2 separate regions of the Homo sapiens genome follow, and region 1 is linked to region 2. The links are contacts of gene promoters, found by promoter capture Hi-C in blood cells and fetal thymus (Javierre and others, 2016). All regions are on one chromosome and are shown on one strand. The core of a region is centred on a gene start or on the middle of the fragment in contact, and the rest is flanking DNA. Distances in the headings are between cores, read along the strand shown.

The links. The method cuts DNA at HindIII sites, captures the fragments that hold promoters and counts their contacts. A CHiCAGO score of 5 or more calls a contact.
Region 1: a contact is called between a fragment that was not itself captured here and the fragment with the promoter of BLK-AS1 in region 2, in 2 of 17 cell types (naive B cells and total B cells). The highest score is 6.9, in naive B cells.

Annotation. Positions count from the first base shown.
Region 1 is chr8:11,662,107-11,667,808 of GRCh38, reverse strand. No RefSeq gene overlaps it. Among named protein-coding and RNA genes, the nearest start is that of GATA4, 39 kb to the left of the region's middle. The HindIII fragment of the contact is 1,646 bases long and covers 557-2,202 here.
Region 2 is chr8:11,556,499-11,562,693 of GRCh38, reverse strand. It overlaps BLK-AS1 (BLK antisense RNA 1), which reads left to right and starts at 4,429. Exons shown (of 5, transcript XR_948956.3): 1 at 4,429-4,804; 2 at 6,033-6,195. BLK (BLK proto-oncogene, Src family tyrosine kinase) reads right to left here. Exons shown (of 13, transcript NM_001715.3): 9 at 5,857-6,036; 10 at 4,656-4,732; 11 at 1,242-1,392. RefSeq lists an enhancer at 3,970-4,259. The HindIII fragment of the contact is 8,296 bases long and covers 1-6,195 here.

The DNA of each region.
Region 1 (5,702 bases), core at 130-2,629, 110 kb before region 2:
TTCCAGGAGGTTTTTTTTTTCTTTTCTGGTATATTTCTTGGAGGTTTTCTATGTAGATGATCACTTTATCTCCGAACAGACATACTTTAATTTCTTCCCTTCTGACCTGTATTCATTGTATTTTTATTTTTGTTACTATCTTTTAAAAAGACAGGGTCTTGCTGTGTTGCCCAGGCTGGAGGTCAGTGGCTATTCACAGGTGCAGTTATGGTGTACTACAGCCTGAGCTCCTGGGCTCAAGTGATCCTGTTGCCTCAGCCTCCCTAGTAGATTGGACTACTACTGGTACATACTACTGCACCCAGCCCTTTTATTATTATTTTCTTTACTTGCCTTATTTTCTGGCTAAAACTTCCATTACTATGCTGAATAGAAGTAGTGAGAGTGGAAATTCTTGTCTTATTCTCAGCCTTTGTGGAAAGGCTTTAGTCTTTTACCATTAATTATGTTAGCTGTTGGTCTTTTGTAAGTGCTCTTTATCAAGTTGAGGAAGTTCCCTTTATTCCTAATTTTCAGAGTTTTTATCATGAATGGGTATCAAATTTCATCGAAAGCTTTTTTCTGTACCAATTGGTATGATCATATGATTTGTTTTCCTTAGCATGTTAAACTGGTGGATTGCATTGATTTTAAATTAGTGAGTCAGTTATGCATCTCTGAAATAAATCTCACTAGTCATGATGTGTAATTCTTGCATGTTGCTGCATTCTATTTGCTGATATTTTGTTAAGGATTTGCATCTATGTCAATGAGGGATATTGGGCTGTAGTGTTTTCTTTGTATGTTAGTCTGGTTTTAGTGTTACTGTAATACTGGCCTTACAAAATGCATTGGAAAATGTTTTTTTTTTCTTGGAAAAAATGTGTTGAATTGGTGTGTTTTCTGAGTTTTAATTACTGTTTCAATTTTAAAAAGAGTTATAGGGCTATTCAAATGGCTGATTTCATATTAAGTAAGTGGTTGTACTTTATACTTTTTGAAGAATTGGTATTTTTAGTAGAGATGAGATTTCATTCACCATGTTGGTCAGGCTGGTCTCGAACTCCTGACCTCAGATCCACCTGCCTCGGCCTCCCAAAGTGCTGGAATTATAGGCATGAGCTACCACGCCCAGTCTTTTCAGCTTTTTGTTTTATTGTTTTTTTTCTGTTATTTTTCTATTTTCTATTTCATTGATATCCGCTCCTGTCTTTATTACTTCCTTCCTTTTATTTGCTTTGGACTTATTTTGCTCTTATTTTTCCAGTTTCTTGAGGCGAGAGCTTAGATAGCTGATTTGAAACTTTTCCTCTTTTTTTTTTTTTTTTTTTTTTTTTTTAATTGAGACAGGGTCTCACTCTGTCACCCAGGCTGGAGTGCAGTGGTGTGTGATCACAGCTTACTGCAGCCTCAACTTCCCTGGCTCAAGTGATCCTCGCACCTCAACCTCCCTTCCTGAGTAGCTGGGACTACAGATGTGTGCCACCATGCCTGGCTAATTCTTTAAAATTTTTGTAGAGACAGAGTCACACTGTTTTGCCCAGGTTGGTCTCAAACTTCTGGTTTCAGGTTATCCTCCTGCCTTGGCCTCCCAAAATGATGGGATTATAGGCACGAGCTGCTCCACCCAGCCTGATATTTTTAGGATAAATGAAGGATAAAACTGGTATAAATTTGGAGTCATTTTAATGAAATTATTATTCTTAATATTGATGTAACTATTCTAAATGAATAAAATATTAGCAAGCTGAATCCAGCAGTATATTAAAAGAAAATATCAATGTTCAATAGGGTTTTCCCTTAGGGAGCCAGGTCATTAATATTAGGAAACAGACAGGCACTGTGGCTTATGCCTGTAATCCCAGCTACTTGGGAGGCTGAGGCAGGAGGACTTCTTGAGCCCAGGAGTTCAAGGCTGCAGTGAGCTATGATTGTACCAGTGCACTCTAGCCTGGGTGATAGAGTAAGACTCTCATCTCTAAAAAAATAAAACAAAATATTAGGAAACAATAAAATTTATTACAGTATTCAGTCAAAGGAAGAAAAACTATACAACTATACCAATAGGAGTGAAAAGGCATTTAACCAAATGTAGCATCCTTTCTTGATTAAAACAAATAAAACTCTCACTAAAAAATTAGAACAGAAGGATATTCCCATAATATAATAAAAATATCTGACTCAAACACAATAAAGAAATGGGACCTTATTAAACTAAAAGCTTCTGTACAGCAAAAGAAATAATCATCAGAGTAAACAGACAACTCACAGAGTGGGAGAAAATATTTGCAAACTATTCATTTGACAAAGGACTAATTTCCAGACTCTACAAGGAATTCAAACAAATCAGCAAGAAAGAAACAAATAATCCCATCAAAAAGTGGGCAAATGACATGAGTAGACATTCTCAAAAGAAGGTATACAAATGGCCAACCAACATATGAAAAAATGCTCAACATCACTAATTATCAGGGAAATGCAAATTAAAACCACAATGAGATACAACCTTACCCCTGCAAGAATGGCCACTATTTAACAAATTAAAAAACAATAGGTGCTGGCTGCATGTGGTGAAAAGGGACCATTATACACTGCTGGTGAAAATGTAAATGAGTACAACCTCTATGGAAAACAGTGTGGAGATTTCTCAAAGAAGTAAAAGTAGATCTATCATTTGATCCAGTAATCTCACTACCAGGTAACTACCCAAAGGAAAAGAAGTAATATCAAAAAGACACCCACATGCATATGTTTATTACAATGCAATTCTCAATTGCAAAGATGTAGAACCAATCTAAGTGCCCACTGACTAATGAGTAGCGAAAGCAAATATATATGTCATGGAATACTACTCACCCATAAAAAAGGAAATGATATCTTTTGCAGCAACTTGACTGGAGCTGGAGGCCATTATTCTAAGTGAAATAACTCAAGGATGGAAAACCAAACACGGTATGTTCTCACTTATAAGTGAGAGCTAAGCTACGGGTATGCAAGGGCAGACAGAGTGGTATAATGGACTTTAGAGACTCAGAAGAAAGAGGGAGGTAGGGAGGGAGGTGAGGGATAAAAAATTACTTATTGGGTACAATGTATACTACTTGGGTGACAGGTGCATAAAGATCTGACTTTGCCACTGTACAATTCATCCATGTAACCAAAAAACCACTTGTACTCAAAAAGCTATTGAAATAAAAAAAGTTTGAAATCTGACTCAAGCCAACCACTAGCATTATTTAATTGTGAAAAACCAGAAGAGATGTTCTCATGCTTGTTAGGAACAAAAGCAAGATGCCCAACATCAGTATTCCGGAAATGCTAGCCAATGCAATAATATAAGAAAAATAAGAGACAGAAGAATTGGAAGGGAAGAAGCAAAATCATTTTTACCTACACACTGCAGAAGTCTAAGCTGTAGTCCCTGCCTCAAACCCACCTTTCTGCCTTTCTGTTTTCTGTCTTGTGCTTGTGGGGTTGAGATTCTATAAGCCACCATTCTGTCTTTCTGGCTGGCTCTGTATCAGGTTCTGCCCACAGACAACAATGAAGGGAGACTACAAGGCTTGTGGAGGTGAAGGAAATACACCTTTCGTTTGCTTCCTAGTCATAAATGCTTTTCTCTAGCCTCTCTATCATGGCAGCAACAGTTCATTCTTGTAGCAGCAGCTGAATCCAGTTTTCAGTTTTGTCTTTTTTTTTTTTTTTTGAGATGGAATCTCACTCTGTAGCCCAGGCTAGAGTGCAGTGGTACGATACTTGCTCACTGTAACCTCCGCCTCCTAGCTTCAACTGATTTTCCTGCCTCAGCCTCCTGAGTAGCTGAGATTACAGGCATGTGCCACCACGCCCAGCTAATTTTTGCATTTTTGGTAAAGATGGGGTTTCACCATGTTGGCCAGGCTGGTCTGGAGCTCCTGAGCTCAAGTGTTCCCTCCATCTCCACCTCCCAAAGTGCTAGAATTACAGGTATGAGCCACCACGCCCAGCCCAGTTTTTCTTATTCTTGCAGAAACAAACTCTTCAAGATGCTGTCAGAGATGCCAGTACTGTCTGTCACTCACCCCCTCCTCAGACATATGTTTCCAGCCCCATGGGCCTCTCCTCCAAGTGTCTAAATGTTAATAATTTCAACCTTTTTCTTCTGATTGCCCAACTTTACAAGTAATATCTGCCTCTGCAGTCTCTACCTTCATCATACGTTAGGATTATCTTTCTGCTTTAGTGGTTTTTCCATGCCTAGTTAACAATTCCTTTTATTATATTATCTGTTAAAAATACTGATATAGTTTCTGTCTCCTCACTGGTCCCTGGCTGGTACCCCAGCTCATAAGATAGTTTTATACGGTAGCTGGTTATAAAAGAAGTTTCTGAAGAAATTAACTTTCATACCAACACTAACTAGTTAAGAAACATAATTGGGTGTTTATCTGAAATTCACTTGTGACTGGGTATCCTGCATTTTTATCTGCTAAAGCTAGAAACCCTCAATATGGAGAGCCTGCTCCAAGTGTTTTGGGATCAAGGGATGGGATAAGTGTTGATGGGGATGCTGTGTCAATGGTGGGATCCTACACAGGGCTACTGGCATTATGATAGCGTCCTGTTCCAAAGCTTGGATTAGCACACTAGGACAACCCAGGGTTGAAGATAAGTGAATGCTTTACAAAGATGGTGTCTGAAGGGTGGTGAATTTCCCAGGAATATTATCCACACACATTACAATATATTGGACATAATGTCAGCTCTACCTACTCTCTCCAGAATTCTTGTCTTATTATTCGTTTTTGTCAAGTCACTCAAATACACCAATTCGCTGCTGTCTCAGAGCCACCTCCCATTAAACTGACCTCTGACTACAATGGTACTAGTTGAGTCCATGAGGCCAATAAACCTGGGGGCCTTGTGGGCTGGGGGGGAAGGAGCCAGGCCACCCGGAGCTGGCCTGAATCAGTCTTTCTGGGAGTAAAGTCTCTCCTGAGGGAGGTGAATGAACTCTGTTCTCACCCAGCTCACAAGCCACGTTTTCCTGGTGGCGCTAACAGTGCATTCGCCTCCCTTGAATGGCTTGGGTCACAGAACGGTTTGTTCTTGTTTGTTGAATAATAGTACCAGGGAACTACCACCACCACCACCACCATCCCCTTTACATACAAAACACAGAAATTCAAACATTTAGGTTCAAATTTGTATCCAAGAAAGGTCTGGAAAGACCCTGCAAATGTAAAAATAGTTACTCTGGGAGAATGAGATTAGGGGGTTGGGTAGTGGGAGTAAGGCAGTGCTTTTCTTTCTTTCTTTCTTTCTTTTAAAACATTTTATTCACTGCTGCATTGCTTGAAAACAAAAGCTTTACAAACAGAATGTAATGTTAATAATTTGTAACAGACCAGTAACAAAGCAATAACAATAGAAACAAAATTTGAAAATAAAACCCACTTCCAAACACAACTATTTTCATGTTTTGAAATACTGTTTCCCCCCACACACACAATTATTGCAGTTCATAGGATGTGAGCAATTTTTTTTTTATTCTGCTATGTTCCTTAACATTTTACTACAATTTTTCTTTGCATTGCTAAAAATTCTTTCTGAGCACACCCGTTTCAGGGCTAGAAGGGTAGCTTTGAGGACAGCTTGTAGCAAAACTTGTCTTTCCTGAGCCCTGCCTTACCCAGCTAAGGAAGGTGGAGGTGGGGAAGGGGTTAGTTTATCTTGGGCAAGTT
Region 2 (6,195 bases), core at 3,180-5,679:
CCACCACGTTTCCACCTGGGATGGAAGGGGCCTGTTTCACCTTACAGGGGCCTTGTTTAATTTAAAAGACATGGCCTGGGCAAGCCATTTAAACCTGCGGGCGCCTCCGTTAGTCCCTTCCTGCAAAATGGAAATGGTGACACTTGTACCTCCGAGGGCCGCTATGAGGAAGAACTCACATCCGGCTGCCCTGTGAAGCACCTCAATGGCTGCAGCCCCGGCCAGCATTTGGAGCAGACCTCAGGGCTTGGCACTTCACAGCCTCCCCTGGCCTCCATTTCTCGGTCTCCCCAGCCAGCCTGAAGTTCCCGAGAGAACAAGCCATATCCTGTCTGCTTGTCATCTGACTCATAGGCTCAGCAGACACTGCTTGCTAGCTTGATAAATATATGTGACCCCTTCAGATTCTCTTGTGACGTAGATTTCCACCTCAGTTATATGCACAGAGTAAAACAGTGCTCCGTGGACACCCTAATACAGGTTGGTTTGCTGATCGCACATGAGAGCTGTGTTTCCCACAGTGTGCTCTGTGAAAGCCTAATTCCATGGAAGGTTAATAGGGACTATATAAAAATAGTATTTGGGCATGGCTTACACCTGTCATCCCAGCGCTTTGGGAGGTCAAGGCAGGCAGATCACCTAAATTCAGGAGTTCGAGACCAGCCTGGCCAACATGGTGAAACCCCATCTCTACTAAACATACAAAAATTAGCCAGGTGTAGTGGCACACGCCTGTAATCCCAACTACTTGGGAGGCTGAGGCAGAAGAATTGCTTGAACCCAGGAGGCGGAGGTTGCAGTGAGCCAAGATTGTGCCACTGCACTCCAGCCTGGGTGACAGAGACTCCATCTCAAAAAAAAAAAAAATAGTATTTGGAGCTCAAATTAGTTTGGGAGGCACTAGGTGAGGCAAACATAAACTGTTTCTTTGCTGCAGGACTTCTCAGTGCCTTTAATATGTTGATGTGCACTGGGAATCTCCAAGACAGGGAGTAGGGTGGACTGCTGTTTCTCCAAACCTACCTTATCCTAAAGCTGTTCCTCCATGGGAGGTCTCAGGGCACTACCATTCTGCTGAACACATTTGGGTAAATGAAGGAAATGCTGATCTAGAGCTGTAGAAACCGTATAGCCCTCAGGTGTCTTCCCTCAGGGCTGTGCTGGGAGAAGTTAAAGGCGGCTTTGAGGAGCTGGGAAAGATAAGGCCCTAGGTTTCCCTTGTGGTTAGGGGCTGTGCTTACCCTCTTGGGCCGTGTATTCACTGTCGATGATTCGAGCCAAGCCAAAATCAGCAATTTTGCAGCACAAGGCCTCAGACACCAGGATGTTGGCCGCCCGCAGGTCGCGGTGGATGGAATTCATGCGCTCAATGTATGCCATCCCTTCAGCAATCTGAGGGAACAGGCACATGGTGAAGGACAGCCTGGGGGCCTCCACGCCAAGACCGAGCCCACACTGTGTCCCCCGCACAGCCCCTGTGGGCTGCTGGGGAAGGAGCTGTTTCTTGGATGGAGTAGAAAGGTGACTGTGTTGCTCCTCAGCCGAATAAACTCCTCTCCTAGAAGCCCAGAACAGCAACGCAGCAACGTGGGCATCAGAGACACAGGGGCTACCTGTGCCCCTCCCCCTCCTCGTTCTCGCTCCACACAGCTGTGTCCAAGGGTCTGCAGAGATGGAAGATAGAAGAACACAGGCAGGAGAAAAGGAGAGGGAGGGAGAAGAGAAGAAATGGTAAGGAAGGAGGGGGAGGGGGAGCAGGAGGCAAGGACAGGCAGCTCTCACTGGCTGGCTGGAAGCACAGCTCCTGGAGCTGGAGGCCCTCGGGAAGTCGCTGACCTCTAGCAAGCTGCTTAACCTCCCCGAGGGGCCACAGTCCTGACATGGAACATGAGGGATGTGGTCTCCAGGGCAGGGGGTTGAGGCAAGCATTAGACGAGGTTGATTTGTGACCAAGAACCTCACCCAGCGCCTGCCCCGTGGGGGCACCCAGGGAGCACTGGCAGATCCAGGTGGACAGAGGCTGTGAAGAAGAAGAGACTTGTCTCTCCTCCCCTGATCACCAGCCTGGGCCAGGGATAGCAGCTGGTGCTACTTGGCACCTTTTAGCTGAGGAAACTAAGGCTTTATTCACCCAATCAATGGACGAAGAAACTGAGGCAGAAAGCAGAGACCCCATTTACCTCTTCAGACATGCGACTTCAAGAAGCCAGCACTAGAATTGATTCCACTTCTCCTTATGCTTGCATTTTGTTGGTTTATCTATGAATCCATCCATCTATCCATGCATCCATCCATCCATGCATCCATCCATCCACCCACCCATCCATCCATCAACACATCCATGCATCCATCCATGTATCCATCCATCCATCCATCTATGCATCCTTCCATGTATCCATCCATCCATGGATCCATCCATCCATCCACCCACCCACCCACCCATCCATCCATCCACCCATTCATCCATCCATGCATGCATCCATCCATCCATCCATCCATCCATCCATCCATGCATCCATCCATCCACCCACCCACCCACCCACCCACCCACCCACGCATCCACCCATCCATGCATCCATCCATCCCCTTGCTACACCATGCAATCAATACTCATTTACTAATATGGGACTGTGGGGAATATAAAACTGAGTACTAAATATATCTGGGCAGCATCTAACAGTACTCGTTCTGATAACTAATATTTATTGAACAGTACCAGAAATATATTTTAAAAAATGTTGAGTAGGGCCCAGATCTGCTTTCAAGAAGAAGCTGCCCAGATCTGCTGAGCAAGAACAGTGCTTCCGGGAACACCTGAGCTAAGGGCTCTCTGGCAGTTTCTTGTCCAGGGAAACCTTCATAGAAATGACATTACGCTTGAGCCATGGATGATGATAAGGATTCTGCCAGGTGGGAAGTGTTCAAGGCTTCCTGGGCAGAGGAGGTAGAGGGGTGGCGAGGCATGGGGCATGGGAACCGGTGGCATCTGGCTGCAAAGTGGGGCCCGAGGGATTGTGATTGCAGGGTTCCTGTGGGGTTGGCCAGATCTGGCCTTGGAAGAAAGGTCTGGCGAGACTTTGCATGGCTTCCTATGGAGTAAGAAAAGAAGAGCCCAGAAGGGCCGGGTGTGTGTCTGCTCATGTGTGTGTAAGTTTGCGTGTTTGTGTGTGTGTTTGTGTGTGTGAGTTTGTGAGTTTGTGTAAATGTGTTTGTGTGAGTTTGTGTTTGAGTCTGAGTCTGTGTATTTGTGTGTCTGTGTGAGTTTGTGTGTGTGAGTCTGTGTGTCTGTGTGTGTGTCTGTCTGTGTGTGAGTTTGCGTGTCTGTGTGAGTCTGTGTATGTGTTTGTGTTTGTCCGTGTGTGTGTGAGTCTGTGTTTTTATGTGTGTGAGAGTGTGTGTGTGTACATGTGTGCTTAGAGAGCCATTGGCATGGTCAGCATGTGGTTAGAGGCTGCCCTTCTGGGAAGTTCTGATTTTCTGGCTCCTCACCCCCGATTCTGTGGCTACATCCAGGTATTAAACTCCGATGGCTTTTCACATCCTTTGCCCCTGGGTCACACGAGATTTCCCAAGGGGGTGTAGTGGGGATTGAATAGGAGACAGCGGAGGGTGAGAGAAGGAAGGGGAAAGGAAGCAGCAGCAGTGGGCAGGCTTATCACTGCCCTGGGGTTTGAAGCCGGTTACCAGCACTCATTTTCCAAAACCAGCCTGCCCAGATGGCTGTCTGCCCACCTCAGCGGAAAAAGGCGTTGTGGCATCAGTTCCTGCAGCGGCGCTACTGGGTAAGGCTGGGCGAGGGGCGAGGTGGGAGGGCTGATGTGGGCGGTGGGTGGGAGCGTTTCCTCTCGGTGGCAGCTGTATGTGTGTGTGTATGTGTACGCACGTGTGTGCCTCACAGGCTGACCACAGACCAAAACTTTTCTGCTGAGAGTTCCAGTTTTAACAGGGCCACCAGATGTGCTTCCTGCCAGCTAGAGCTCTCGGCTAAAACCCTCCTCTCCACTCTGCTCTTCACCCCATGGAGTCCAGAAAGTTCTGCATGTGAACGTGAGGGACACTGAGGACCAGTCCTGGGTAGCCAAGGAGGTCCAGCACTCGCAATTCCCTGGTGGCAGAAGGTGGGGCTGTCCTCCAGGGCTCAGAGAAGTCATGTCCCTGGCATCTGTGTGTAGCTCAGGCCTGCCCATCAGCCTGGGGTCGACGCCAGGGCTGTGCAAAGGCTGAGGGCCCCTGGGATGGGAAGTCCTACAGGAGATGTTTGTGGGCACCATCTAAGGAAGAGATGAGGTCACAACAGAACACACTTGCCTGCCGGGTTCAATGGAACTCTTGCTAACTCTGTGTGTTTCCCATGACATTCATTCGCCCTCTCTTCCTTCGGAACAGAATAGCCTCATTCCAACACAGCAGCCCGGGTCTAAGGCTCCATTCCCTGGGCTCCCTCACAGCTGCGTGGGGCAGGAGGCACAGTGGCCAGGGTTTGCAAGTCCAAGTGCAGTGGGTGACCTTGGGGATATCTGCCTAGAGGAAGGTGGCCTTCAGTACCCCCTGACTTCTCCTGCTGGCTGAGAGGATGGGGTGGTAAGGCACGAGCAGCCATTGTGGGCAGCAGGTGGCACATGCCGCCCTTTCTCTGCACCTGGTACTTCACCAACCTGCGCCGACATGTCAATCAGCCTTGGGAGTGACAATCTGCTCCCTTCATCTGTCTTCAGGAAATCCAGCAGGCATCCTAAGAAAAGAGAAGTTGCAAGTGCCCTTCTGCAAAGTGACCCGCCCCTGGTGGTGCCAGCCTCTCTCTGGTGTGAGTGGCTCCCCATGGGCGCGGGAAGTGGGAGTTTGCACCCTCAGATCTCTCGGTGCATCAGGAAGGATCTACCTACTGCTGCCGAGTGCCTTCCACTTTACAAAATGCCAGTCTCAGCACCCCGGGAGGCAGCCAATATACCAGCAGTTGCCCAGAAGTTAGGTTTCAGCCAGGTGCAGGGACCTGTCTGAAGTCACCCAGCCGGGAGCTGGGAGTGGGACCCCAGTTCTGACTCGAAGTTTCATGCCCCTTCTTGTCTTTCCCCCCGTGTTGGCCTCGCTCCCTTGATCCCTGCTGGCAGACACCCTCTGCCTCTGAGGACCAGGCATCAGCAAGAAAGCACCAGAATGGAGAGAACTGTCCCCCAGGTTTGGTGCAGGGGACAAATGCAGCTCCCCCTGGAATCAGAAAGCTGGGAGGGATGGATGCTTGCCCTAGGGGCAGGCTAGAGGCACCCCCAGCACAGCCTCCGACCGGGGGCCCCTTGGTGACAGTTGTTAGGGAGCTATATCAACATGGGCATGTTAGGATCCTATAGGAGCAGTGTGCGGTCAGGGTCATAGGAGGGTGAGAAAGTGGCATGAGAACTTGGCCACGCCGTGGACCTCAGAGGCCATCAAGCCCAACCTCTCTGGCCATCCTTGTAAAATATTCACACAGTTGTAAATGGTTGCATGACCAGGAGGCAGGAGACCTGGATCTAGTACTGTCCCTGCATGCCTGGCCTGGTGTTCGTCTGACTTTGCAATGCTCTGTCCCTCCCAGCAGGCATCAAAGAGTGCTAGGCACAGAAGATGCACTCCAGAAATGCTGTCTGAACTGCTCCTGGGCTGAGAACATGGCTCTGTCAGAACCACTTCACCCTCCTGTTTCTCACCCTCCCTCTGTCCCTCCCCCTCCCTCCATCCCTCCCTGTCCCCACACCGTGCCATGCCCTAGATCTGCAGGACCCCCTGGCCTGGTGAACCCACCGCAGCGGACCCTCCTCCTCCTGCTAAGCCCGGCCCTCCCGCCTCGCTCTGAGGATGCGGCTCTGCGGGGGGCACCACCTCTGGCCATGTACTCGGTGACAATGTAGATGGGCTCCTTGGTGACCACTGCGTAGAGTCGGACCAGCCGCTCGTGCTGCAGAGCCTTCATCACGTTGGCCTCACCCAGAAAGGCTTCTGGAGACATGGTTCCCTCCTTCAGCGTCTTAATGGCCACCTTCATGTTGTTTTTGTAGTAACCTGAGCCCGGGGGAGTGAAGAAGCCAATCAGAAGACAGAGAGCTTGCTCGGAGGTGATCCCTTAACCAAAATCGGGGTAAGTGCCCAGGTGCCACCCCATTCCAGGTGCCAGAGCTGGAACATGCAGTTCCGGAGGCCATGGTTGTGTGGTGCCTACCT